Regions from separate parts of the Homo sapiens genome. Here all the other regions are linked to region 1. Evidence: promoter capture Hi-C in human tissues and cell types (Jung and others, 2019). All regions are on one chromosome and are shown on one strand. The core of a region is centred on a gene start or on the middle of the fragment in contact, and the rest is flanking DNA. Distances in the headings are between cores, read along the strand shown. Region 1 holds the start of CBR1 (carbonyl reductase 1). Region 2 overlaps RCAN1 (regulator of calcineurin 1). Region 3 overlaps LINC01426 (long intergenic non-protein coding RNA 1426). Region 4 overlaps RUNX1 (RUNX family transcription factor 1).

Region 1 (3,108 bases), core at 226-2,725:
GTTGGGAGCTTAAGGAGTGTTTCAGACAGGTGACAGGTATTAGAAGGGCCTAATGAACTGGTGGTAGTAAAGCCTCCACCAGCCTGAATAAGATCTCTCTGAAAGAGCAGAGAAAGGGTACAGGATGGACTCCCACGCAGAGGGGAATGGAGCAAATAAAGAGCATCTCTCAGGAGACGTTTGAGCTAAGACCTGAAGGATGAGAGTCAGCCAGGTGTGCAAAGACCAGTGCGACAGGGAGGACGAATGGCCATGGGAGTGGGAGAAGTGAGGACAAAGTCCTGAGGCAAAATGGCACATATCAGCTGGCAGGAGAAAAAGCACAGAGGTCAGTGCACGTGCAGCATGGAGAGGAAGCAGGAGCCTGCAGGAGAAATCCCAGGCAAGCAGGGGCCAAATCAAGCCCCAAAGAGAAGGTGCGCTGTTTCCCATCAGACTCACCTTGGGGTTTTATTAGAGGGAGTAATTCTGTGCACACATCTCGGGTACCAAAGAAATTTGTTTTCATCGTCACTTCAGCTTGAATATGAAAGGGTGTGGGATCAGCAACTTTTAGGAGAGAAAGAGAACATAGTTAATACATTGTACCCATGGGGTAAAATTCTATACAATGATACTAAAAAAAAAAAAAAAAAAAAAAAAAAACTTAGTGCCCTCTGCCTAAAGTAAGTCTGTATCTGGTTACAGTATTGTGCCAATGTCAATCTCCTGGTTTGATCATGTTCTAGTATTTTTGTAAGATGGCACCATTGGGGGAAGGAGGATGAAGGGTGCACACACTGGATCTTGGCATAACCATTTTTTCTTTTTGCAATTTGTCGTTTATTTTAAAATCAGTTCAAAATCCATCCAGTTGCCTTAAAGCTCAATTCAGAAAAACTGCAGAAAACCTGAAAAAGATCCCCAAGAGTCCCAGCCAGGGAAACACAAAGTTCCCTTTGGCTGGAAAACTCTCACTTTCTCCAAGGTTTCTGCACTCCCTGCATCTCCTAGCTCCTCCCTCTCCTCCCTAGGGAGGCGTTATGGACCCCGCAGACGCCAGGAGCCCCAGTGCATCGGTTCTTCTTCGGGGAGGCCACGTCCCCTCCCCATACCCTTGAAGGCGATGCCCGCGTTGTTGACCAGCACGTCCAGGCCCCCGTACTCCTTGCGCAGGAAGTCGCGCAGGGCGCGGATGCTCTGCAGATCGTCGATGTCCAGCTGGTGGAAGCGCGGGCTCAGGCCCTCCGCCTGCAGCTGCTGTACGGCCGCCTGGCCCCGCGTCACGTCCCGCGCCGTGAGCACCACGTCCCCCGAGAACAGCCGGCACAGGTCGCGCACGATGGCCAAGCCGATGCCCTTGTTGCCTCCAGTCACCAGCGCTACATGGATGCCGGACGACATGGCTGAACGGGGCGCGCGGAACACCTGCGTGGAGAACAGACCTGGCTCAGGCCCGGGAGCCCCGCAGCGTGTTCCAGAGACTGCTCGAGTCTGGCGGTCGTGGGCGCGCACCCGTGGGTTACACGCCCGGCCGCTGAGCGCGCAGGCGCAGGCCCCGCCCTAGCGGGGCGGGGCTGAACCATCCCTACCCCTCCCCACCGGAACCTCGCCGGGGTGCGGAGCAGGCGGAGAGCCAGCTAGCCTGACTTTGCAGAACCCGCAGGCCGAAGACCGAGGCTGGTCTCTAGCTACTGGCTGTTGGCTGCCCACGTGGCAGTGAAGAACCATTCCTAGTGGCCATGTGCCTAGATCTGAACTCACTGCTTGCCCTTGGTTCTCTGAGGGGTTTTCTTCATATTCTCCCAGCTGTTCAATCATTCCTAGTTGTGTTTGAAGAAATAGTACATTTGCATGGTTTTTTTTTCTTTTTTTCCTGGTGTTCTAAAAAAAAAAATACTGCAGGAACTGCAGTCTTTGGAGCTAGAGTTGCAGAAGAAACTGGAAGGAAATAACAGGGCATCAAGTTTTTGTTGATTTTCCCCCTAAGTATATGAAAACAAAGCTACTGACTTAGCCAGATTTTCCAATAATGGTGGGAAACATTCACTAAATCTTTATAAGGTTACTTCTCTGGGCATTTGCAGGGCCATCAGTTTATCTGTGCATAGGTGTAGGGGGTTTCACAGCCCTATTTTACACGGACAATAACACTCTAGGATGTACCTTTTAATCCCCATCTTAAAATGAAGAAACAGGGATCCATCCTCAGAATTTATAACTTAGTTCAGTGGTGGGAAATTGTTAGAGAAATGCCAGGAGTTTGGTCTAGGTCTGGTGGTTCACAGCACAGAAAGCCAGTCACTGAGACCCCATTATTGTCAGGGAAGAAGGCATTATTTGGGTGCTACAGCCTAGGGGGGAGAGATCAGTCTCAAATCCATCTTCTCAACTGATTAAAATTAGGATATAGCAGGGAAGAAATGTAACTGCATGTGGGAAAATAGCAGGAGTTAGGGAGAGATGAAGAGGAGTGGGTCAACAGGCATCAGGCAATTGTTGCAGGTGAGGGGTCTGGTGTCTGATTTTCCAGATGTGGTGATCCGATAAGTTTCAGTTCCTTGGTGCTATCTGGGAGGACTGATGGCTAGTTCCCTGAGAAAGGAACTCAGATAAGACAAATGTAAATTTCTCAAGTTTTTAGACTGGGAGGGTCAATTTGTTTATTCAAAAGAGACCAGGCCTGGCGCGGTGGCTCACGCCTGTAATCTCAGCACTTTGGGAGGCTGAGGTGGGTGGATCATGAGGTCAGGAGTTCAAGACCAGCCTGGCCAAGATGGTGAAACCCCATCTCTACTAAAAAAAAAAAAAAAAAAAAAAAATACAAAAATTAGCTGGGTGTGGTGGCAGGCGCCTGTAATCCCAGCTACTTGGGAGGCTGAAGCAGAGAATTGCTTGCTTGAACCCCAGAGGCGGAGGTTGCAGCGAGCCGAGATCATGCCACTGCACTCCAGCCTGGGCAACAGAGTGACTCCCTCTCAAAAAAAAAAAAAAGGAAAAAAAAAGAGACCATAAACATCTGTCCTATGGGACAATTGCATGGTTTCAAAGTGAGTGTTCCTCCTTCCTACTTACAAGGGAATTGGGAATAAGGTCAAGTTTCATTTCTGTGCTGTCCCATAGGTTGCC
Region 2 (3,108 bases), core at 243-2,742, 1.5 Mb after region 1:
ATTAAACAACTGTCATCATTAATGCTGTAATGGGGAGAAGTTTATTATGTAACCTTCCAGTCTTGTTAGAAAGGAGATTCAGAGGAAGGGGTCATCCAGGGAGAAAGAAAAGGGGCTTGGATGTGATTCTGGGACTGCAAGAAGAATGGGGAAAATAATGCAGGTGAGCAAGGAATAGATGTAGGGACATGGCAGTGACAAGAAACAATTCAGATGAGTGTCCCCTGGCACTCAGACAGCCCTGACTCCAGTGAGAATGGCTCAGCCAACACTACTGATTAAATGAGAATTTCACCAGATAAAGATGGCAGGCAGGAGAGGTAATCAAAGAAAGACAAAATCAGTATTTTCTGGTGAAATCCCTGTTTCTAGGTATGAAATAGGATTCTTTCAATAACTAGCACTCCAAAATGTTAATGGGTTAAAATGAGCAGGTTTAGAGATTGTGCATAACAGATACAGAGCAAATATTAAAAGCCGTGATACCAAACCACTACACAAAAACAGGCAAAGTCGATTTTCTCTCCAACTAACCTTTACCCTTACATATTGTGTCTGTTAACCACGGTTACCTTGACCATTGATATATAGCATCTAGTGAGGGAAGGGGAAAGGAGAAGCTTTTTTGTTATTATAAAAGTAATAAGTGTTCATTGTGGAAATTCATGCTAGAATCTAAATAATCCAAATCCAAATAATCAAGAAGAAAAACACAGGAGTCTTCTAATACTATCACACATATTCTTTCTTTTCACCAAAATGAGAACAATAAACATTGCTTTGTAACCTGGTTTTTTCTCCTAACAGCAAGTCTTGAACATCTTTTCATGTCATTAGTTTTCACCACCTTACTATGAGTGGCTCTATAGTCTACTGAATGAATTTAGCATGTATATTATCTGATCACGGATCTTGATGTATTTTATTTACATAAAACTATATTTTTGCATATTTTATTTGCCTTGCAGGAACATATTTGCATCTAATGTTTGCCCACAGCCATGAGGATTTCTTTAGAATAAATTCCTAGGAGTGAAATTGTTGAGTCAGTATTCGGGATTTGAGTTGATGCGGTTTATACTGAAAGTTTAAACTGTTTGAATTTACCGCTAATCTTACCGATATTCTTCTTGAAGCTCCTTACATGGATGATGAGCTAATGATTTGGAGTGGAATAAGCAGCATTTTTGTAGTGTTCAGTTTAAAGGCTGTCACATTTCTGAGACTTCAGATGATTAACTTAGGGTGCAAGTCTGGAGCCTTCTAATTCCTTGAGCTTGGGCCTTGCGGGTTGGTCGGTTAGCTGGTCGGTGCACTGGTCACAGTGACACACCCCAGGTCACTTCAGAAAAATAGAATTTGTCTCCCAGCCTCCCTTGACAGTCAGCCCTGTTGGGGCAGAGCAAAGCCACCTTGCCCAAGTTCCACCCCCTTCTCAGGGTAGCCCCTTCCCAGAACTGACCAACGTGGGGGTATCAAGGCCCGGTCCTCCTGCTCCGATAAGGGTCGTCTCATCCTCAAAGCTCCCTGTAGAGTCGGCTAGGCTTCCACTAGGACCACTTGGTAGCTTCACTCTCCCTCTGCCCAGTTTCCTTTCCCCTCCCCACCACTCGTCCTAATAACCTCCCCTGCGCAAGAACCTCTGTCTTAGAGTCTGGAAGCGGCCAGTACCCATGGCGGGGAGTGGATGGGGAATTGGCTGGGGAGTTGGCAGTAGCTGTGGTTGATCACAGTATGTGCCACATAATTTCACCTCTACAGAGGACAGTAGAGCCACTGTGTCCTCCCTCAGGATGGAGGAGCCCACGGTGGCTTGGACCAACAGGGAGCGTTTCTTAAATGGGTGAAACAGGCACAATCTTCCCATCATTTTCAACATAAGGAATAAAATGTACCATAGATTTGTACAAGAGCAGTTTAAAATGCTCTCTTCTCCGAATGATCTTTTAAGAAACTATCTTAAAGACCACACTCTGAAAACACCTGGACCTCAGGCTCCTTTCAAATTGTTTTTCTGTGTCTTCGAATGCCATTCCTGACAAAACTTTTTTTGCCTCCATGAATCATGAGCTAATTCTGTAGAAATCTGTAAGTGAATTACAGTTCAGATTCTTCCTCTGTCTTCCTCTGACATGGCCCAATCATTTCTTAATAATTGCTAAAGAAACCAACTGTGGTTTATGTTTGAGCAGAATCAAGATCGTCGCTATAACCATGTCACCACCATTCCCTGGCATTTACAGCATAATTTCAGGAGTGGGAGACAACATTTCACAGATGCCCAGGGAGTCACCCATAGGAATGTGATGTGCCCATACATGGGCCAGATGAAAAAATAAGTACACACACACACACACACACAATTACCATGTGGGAGTGAGGGCCATGCCCTCTCCATGTATAATTCGGTGTAAATTGTTAGGCATAGAACAGCTTGAGCCCCAGAGCTGGGTAAACTTCTCTGCCTGTACGCCTGGCACCTCACACCATGGCTGGCCCTAGCAGGTGACTAATCTGTTTTTGATGAATTACCAAATTAAGCCACAAATTGAAATGCCCTGGGGGCTGGTCAGCCAGCAGCCATCATTGGTGGAGGGGCGAGTAGACCACAGACAGTGATGAGGCCTGGGGTATTTGAAGAGCATGGGTTCCCCAACAAGGGGCATCTGCTCGGCCACAGTGAAATGGAGCTCTGGGCCCAGGGTGGCCACATCTCCCCGGGCCACCACCACCAAAAAGAAGTCAGAAGTTCTATTTCTGTGTGACACCTCCCAATTTTTCAATATTAACAACTAATTTTCCGTCAATGTTAATGGGCTACAGTTCACCAGGAGAAAACTAACTGGGCCATTCTAGGCCTGATGGAAAGGGAACAGCTCTTAGGAATCAGATACTCGGTGCAAAGATGTGTGCCCACATTTTAGTCACTTGACGGGAACACCTAGATTTTCCTGATGAACCAGGTTGGCACAGTTGTTCTCTCTTTGGGTGGACAGAGATAATATCCAAGTTGTGGTGGGGTCTTGCTTGTTCTTTGTATGTAGTTTATTGTTCCTTCAGTATGTTTTGAATCATTGGTGACCTTCATGAAGATGACAGGACATGCTT
Region 3 (3,108 bases), core at 391-2,890, 1.3 Mb after region 1:
TCTACGTAAAAGTATGGAAAGGAAACAAAGAAATCAAGGTGCAAAATGGTGTATGCAATAGGCTTTATGCAAAAAGGGAAAATTAAGAACATATATTCACTTTGGTTATATTTTTCAAAGATTCATAAAATCTAAGAAAATATAAATAAGACGTAAAAAGTTGTAGCTTTTTTGTATTGGTTTTGCTTTTATGTAATATGATTGTATAATCTATTAAAAATAAGGGAAGAAAACCAAATCTATATTTCTACATAGCTGAGTTTGAGACTTGTGAAAAATTACTACCTTCTCTACCTGTACCTTCCATATCAAGGGGTTCAAGGAGCACTTGCTGATTGGCTGATTCCAAGCCTACTGAGTCATTAATATTACATCCTTCAATCCCGTAAGAATGTGGTGAGATCCAGGCTATGCTTGACCTGACCTGACAAGCTGCATGATTTAAGGGAAACAGCACTCGAGTCAAAGTAGACTACTGGAGCCAAGATCTGGTTAATTTGCATATGACTTTAGGCAGGTCACAGACCCTCTTGTAGCTTCAATTCTTACATCATAAAGTAAAGAAATCAGCTGAGGTTAGCAAATATTTATTGGGAGATCACTGCCATCTTGGAGCCTCAACACTGCAGTAAGACTCAGTGCCTGTCCTCAAGGCCTAGAGGACTGATGGAGGAGGGAAGCAAGATGGAGACAAGGTCTGCAGAAGGAGTCAGGAACCAAGTCAGAGGGCTCTCCATGGAGCTCTGGATCCCAGAAGAGGGCCACACCCATCCCATCCCACGGCTCATGGAAACCTCTCTATAGGAGAAGGATTTGAAGAGAAGGTATCTCAGCAAACAGAATAGGAGGAAAGAAGGTGTGACCTGGGACCCATAAGGGAAGCTCAGGCAGCAAGGATTACTGAAGTATCGAGCCTGGGATGGGAAGGAGTGGCGGGTGCAGCTGTGACTGTGCCCTTCCAAAGATCCAGCCAGCTCTGACTCTCCAGGTGTCTGTGTTCCACAGGATGGTGCAGCGAGAGCACAGGCCAGGTCAGGGACAATCGAAACAAAACGGGTTCCACTGAGGACCAGGACCAAGGAAAAGTTCCCTTTGCATCCACTGGGGACCTATGGCTGGGTAGGCAGGAGCCTTTCCTCTTCAGCCCGAGCTCTGCCAAGCCTTGCAGGAGCTGCATGCATGAGTGCAGAGGAGTTAAGGAGATGGTCCCTGGCACTTGAAACCCCATTCCCACCTCCAGCATCTTCACTGCATGATGTCCCTGGTGCCCAGGGCTCGTTCTCCCCTTAGGGACATGGGCCCACCTGAGATCTCTTCTGCTGTCCCCGCCTCCTAGGGTTAGCACTGCCTCTAGTGTTGGCATGCCCCACTGATCAGTGGCCTTACAGGGACCCAGTGGCCTTGCAGGGACTATGGTGCATGGCATTACCCTCATCTCATTTGATTCCCACCACAATCCTTCGAGGTAGTATCACTGCATGCATTTTACAGATGAGACAGTGAAGCTTAAAGCAGCTAATTGCCCCATGGTCCCAGAGTTAGTTAGTAGTAGAGCTAGGATTCGAATCTGGGTCTCTCCTCCCCAAGCCAGGGAGCTGAAGCAAGGTCTTTCTCTGCCTGGAAGAAAGGGCCTGTCCATTTGCTTGACAAACAGGTTGGCTATTCCAAGCTTTGTCCCAACCATCTTGGCCAGGCCACTGAGCTCCTCCCATATCCCAGCCCACCCCATTCATCCCCTAAATCCAAGGCCAGCTCCTCACCCTCCCCTGAGCATGGCTGGATCAGATGAGCAAAAGCAACAGCGCTCACAAGATTGCCCCACTTGGCTCCAGCAATTAATTAAGAGCCGTCTGAGAGCCTCCAAGGGGCCTGCAAGCTCCAGCAAGATGCGGCACACATGGCTCAATCCAAAATATTCACTGTGTTTTTCCCTAGCTGGGGAACCAGTCCTTACCTGTTACCTGAACCTGATTAAATGCCCAAGCCGCTCACTCTTGGTGCCAGCCAGGAGCCAGCCTGCTGGTCCTATGGAAGGTGGGGTGGTGGCTGGAAACTTGACAATGATAGTCATCCGTCAATAAATACGGCGTTGTTTATGGGCTATAACATGAAGCCTCCAGGGCCTGTGCCAGGCACTGCTTATTCTGGTCAACAGGCTGCTGGTACACAGGAGACCTATGGGCTCAGCTGGGGCATGGGAGGAGCCCGAGACTCAACCCAGAGGGGACCATGGGGAGGGCTGCTCTAGGCCATGTTGGGGGCCTCATCACCACCATTCTGGTTCCCAGGTGGTCCATCCTCCACCTGGCACCGGACAACCTGGGTCAGGTATATTTTGTTGTTATTCCTCTGCATAAGACCTTCCATTGCCTTCGCATATACAGTTGGGCCCTTGAATGTTGGAATCTGATTTAGACATAACACTTCCTTGGAAAGCTCATACACCAAGAAGAAAGACACCTGCTATGACGGTGGTGGACCATGGCCCCTCATAGTCTTAGACTTGTCTTAGGGATCAAGTGACTCTGTCCCACCCTGCAGCATAGTCTATGTTCTGCCAGCATTAAAATTAAAGTCCTACTGGCTCTCACTCCAAAATACATCCGAACCCATCCATTTTCTCCACCAACACCTAGACCAGGGAGAGCTCAGTAGCCCTTTTTGGTGAAGAGCCAGATAGTGCATACTTCAGGTGTTGTAGGGCAAGAGGCAAAATCAAACCTACTATGCAGTTACTTATTATTATTTTTTTTTTTTGAGACAGATCCTCACTCTGTCACCTAGGCTGGAGTGCAACGGTGCAATCTCAGCTCACTGCAATCTTCCCTGCCCGGGTTCAAGTGATTCTCCTGCCTCAGCCTCCCGAGTAGCTGAGATTACAGGTGCCTACCATCACACCCAGCTAATTTTTGTATTTTTAGTAGAGACAGGGTTTCACCATGTTGGCCAGGCTGGTCTTGAACTCCTGATATTAGGTGATCCACCTGCCTCGGCCTCCCAGAGTGCTGGGATTACACGCATGAGCCACGATGCCCTGCAGCAGTTACTTCCATAAAAAGAGTGAAAGCACATTTCCATACTTTTTTATTAATGAAAATTAAAATATGA
Region 4 (3,108 bases), core at 339-2,838, 1.3 Mb after region 1:
TTTGACAGGATTCCCTCCACAACTCAGTTTCATATATTATTCCGTATTACATTTTTGCAGCTAAATTACCATAAAATGTCAGCAAATGTAAAAATTTAATTTCTGAAAAGCACCATTAGCCCATTTCCCCCAAATTAAACGTAAATGTTTTTTTTCAGCACATGTTACCATGTCTGACCTGCAAAAATGCTGGAGAAAAATGAAGGAAAAAATTATGTTTTTCAGTTTAATTCTGTTAACTGAAGATATTCCAACTCAAAACCAGCCTCATGCTCTGATTAGATAATCTTTTACATTGAACCTTTACTCTCAAAGCCATGTGTGGAGGGGGCTTGTCACTATTGTAGGCTCACTGGATTGGTCATTTAGAGTTTCACAGACTCTTACCAGCATATATAGTATTTAATTGTTTCAAAAAAAATCAAACTGTAGTTGTTTTGGCGATAGGTCTCACGCAACACATTTTTGTATGTGTGTGTGTGTGCGTGTGTGTGTGTGTGTGTGAAAAATTGCATTCATTGACTTCAGGTAGATTAAGGTATCTTTTTATTCATTGCCCTCAGGAAAGTTAAGGTATCAATGAGACCCTTAAGCCAATCATGTAATAACTGCATGTGTCTGGTCCAGGAGAAGTATTGAATAAGCCATTTCTACTGCTTACTCATGTCCCTATTTATGATTTCAACATGGATACATATTTCAGTTCTTTCTTTTTCTCACTATCTGAAAATACATTTCCCTCCCTCTCTTCCCCCCAATATCTCCCTTTTTTTCTCTCTTCCTCTATCTTCCAAACCCCACTTTCTCCCTCCTCCTTTTCCTGTGTTCTCTTAAGCAGATAGCACATACCCCCACCCAGTACCAAATTTCAGAACACAAGAAGGTCCAGTTCTTCCCCCTTCACATAAAGGAACATGGTTTGTCAGCCTTTCTCCTGTTTATGGGTTTCTTCCAGCAGAACAGAGACATTGCCAACCATATTGGATCTGCTTGCTGTCCAAACCAGCAAACTTTCCTGGGCAAATCACAATCAGTGAGTAAATAGACAGCCTTTCTGCTGCCTTGGGTTTCTGTGCAGATAAACAGAAATGCTCTGATTAGAAAGGAAATGAATGGTTCCACTCAAATGTCCTGCAATTTAGGATTGCAGATTTCTGCCTTGAAATACCTGTTTCTTTGGGACATTCCGTCCTGATGATTTTTATTTTTGTTGGTTTTTATTTTTGGGGGGAATGACATGTTTGGGTCTTTTATACATGAAAATTTGTTTGACAATAATCTCACAAAACATATTTTACATCTGAACAAAATGCCTTTTTGTTTACCGTAGCGTATACATTTGTTTTGGGATTTTTGTGTGTTTGTTGGGAATTTTGTTTTTAGCCAGGTCAGTATTGATGAGGCTGATCATTTGGCTCTTTTTTTCCTTCCAGAAGAGTTGCATCAACAAAGTTAATTGTATTTATGTATGTAAATAGATTTTAAGCTTCATTATAAAATATTGTTAATGCCTATAACTTTTTTTCAATTTTTTTGTGTGTGTTTCTAAGGACTTTTTCTTAGGTTTGCTAAATACTGTAGGGAAAAAAATGCTTCTTTCTACTTTGTTTATTTTAGACTTTAAAATGAGCTACTTCTTATTCACTTTTGTAAACAGCTAATAGCATGGTTCCAATTTTTTTTAAGTTCACTTTTTTTGTTCTAGGGGAAATGAATGTGCAAAAAAAGAAAAAGAACTGTTGGTTATTTGTGTTATTCTGGATGTATAAAAATCAATGGAAAAAAATAAACTTTCAAATTGAAATGACGGTATAACACATCTACTGAAAAAGCAACGGGAAATGTGGTCCTATTTAAGCCAGCCCCCACCTAGGGTCTATTTGTGTGGCAGTTATTGGGTTTGGTCACAAAACATCCTGAAAATTCGTGCGTGGGCTTCTTTCTCCCTGGTACAAACGTATGGAATGCTTCTTAAAGGGGAACTGTCAAGCTGGTGTCTTCAGCCAGATGACATGAGAGAATATCCCAGAACCCTCTCTCCAAGGTGTTTCTAGATAGCACAGGAGAGCAGGCACTGCACTGTCCACAGTCCACGGTACACAGTCGGGTGGGCCGCCTCCCCTCTCCTGGGAGCATTCGTCGTGCCCAGCCTGAGCAGGGCAGCTGGACTGCTGCTGTTCAGGAGCCACCAGAGCCTTCCTCTCTTTGTACCACAGTTTCTTCTGTAAATCCAGTGTTACAATCAGTGTGAATGGCAAATAAACAGTTTGACAAGTACATACACCATATCCAATTGGTTTTGTCTTTCTCTGAGATGGAGGGTTGGGAAACTGAGTAAGGCCCACTGCACACACTAGGAAGATACCTCCAGTGAACAGCTTCAGGCTGAAGCTATGTCCTCACCCCCGGTGCTCCTAGCACACTCTGGCTTCTGAAGGCATGAGGGCCTGGAAAAGGCGCAGGCTCCCAGGGTTGCTTCTTTGCATATGAAAGAGCACTGAAGCATGTTTTAATGCTTGTTTTAAAAAATAATAATAGGCCGGCGCGGTGGCTCACGCCTGTAATCCCAGCACGTTGGGAGGCCGAGGCGGGCGGATCATGAGGTCAGGAGATCGCGACCATCCTGGCTAACACGGTGAAACTCTGTCTCTACTAAAAATATAAAAAATTAGCCTGGCGTGGTGGCGGCTGTAGTCCCAACTACTCAGGAGGCTGAGGCAGAAGAATGGCGTGAACCCGGGAGGCGGAAGTTGCAGTGAGCCGAGATCGCGCCACTGCACTCTAGCCTGGGCGACAGAGCGAGACTCCATCTCAAAAATAATAATAATAATAAAGAAACTAAAAAGAGTTACATGACACTAGCCAACCCAAAGTGGAAAGGGCTGTATGTTCAACCTAAGGCCAGGAAGCTTCATCTGCCTTCATTGCTGTACATTGCAGGAATCAGGCTTGGGTAGTGGTTGGGAGTTTTTTAAAAGAAATACTTCTCTCACCACCACCCCAGTGCAAAGTATCTTTAGTATTTTAGTTTCAAGACTCTGGGTTCAACTCAAGGTATCTTCCCACCAAGAATTACTGTCTAAAGTATCTTCCAGTTCTGTCACTGCT

The links. The method cuts DNA at HindIII sites, captures the fragments that hold promoters and counts their contacts. A contact is called where the count stands out against the background at its distance.
Region 2: a fragment that was not itself captured here is called in contact with the fragment with the promoter of CBR1 in region 1 in 1 of the 25 tissues and cell types used here (dorsolateral prefrontal cortex).
Region 3: a contact is called between a fragment that was not itself captured here and the fragment with the promoter of CBR1 in region 1, in 1 of the 25 tissues and cell types used here (lymphoblastoid cells).
Region 4: a fragment that was not itself captured here is called in contact with the fragment with the promoter of CBR1 in region 1 in 1 of the 25 tissues and cell types used here (lymphoblastoid cells).

What each region holds. Positions count from the first base shown.
Region 1 is chr21:36,068,391-36,071,498 of GRCh38, reverse strand. It overlaps CBR1 (carbonyl reductase 1), which reads right to left and starts at 1,475. Exons shown (of 3, transcript NM_001757.4): 1 at 1,095-1,475; 2 at 442-549. The coding sequence starts at 1,383. CBR1-AS1 (CBR1 antisense RNA 1) reads left to right here. Exons shown (of 4, transcript NR_040084.1): 4 at 1,014-1,857. RefSeq lists an enhancer at 1,170-1,419. The HindIII fragment of the contact is 9,879 bases long and covers 1-3,108 here.
Region 2 is chr21:34,537,081-34,540,188 of GRCh38, reverse strand. The region is part of intron 1 of RCAN1 (regulator of calcineurin 1); the gene reads left to right. Among named protein-coding and RNA genes, the nearest start is that of KCNE1, 26 kb to the right of the region's middle. The HindIII fragment of the contact is 3,284 bases long and covers 1-3,108 here.
Region 3 is chr21:34,759,424-34,762,531 of GRCh38, reverse strand. The region is part of intron 1 of LINC01426 (long intergenic non-protein coding RNA 1426); the gene reads right to left. Among named protein-coding and RNA genes, the nearest start is that of LINC01426, 15 kb to the right of the region's middle. The HindIII fragment of the contact is 3,510 bases long and covers 1-3,108 here.
Region 4 is chr21:34,786,981-34,790,088 of GRCh38, reverse strand. RUNX1 (RUNX family transcription factor 1) reads left to right here. Exons shown (of 9, transcript NM_001754.5): 9 at 1-2,288. Among named protein-coding and RNA genes, the nearest start is that of LINC01426, 43 kb to the right of the region's middle. The HindIII fragment of the contact is 6,144 bases long and covers 1-3,108 here.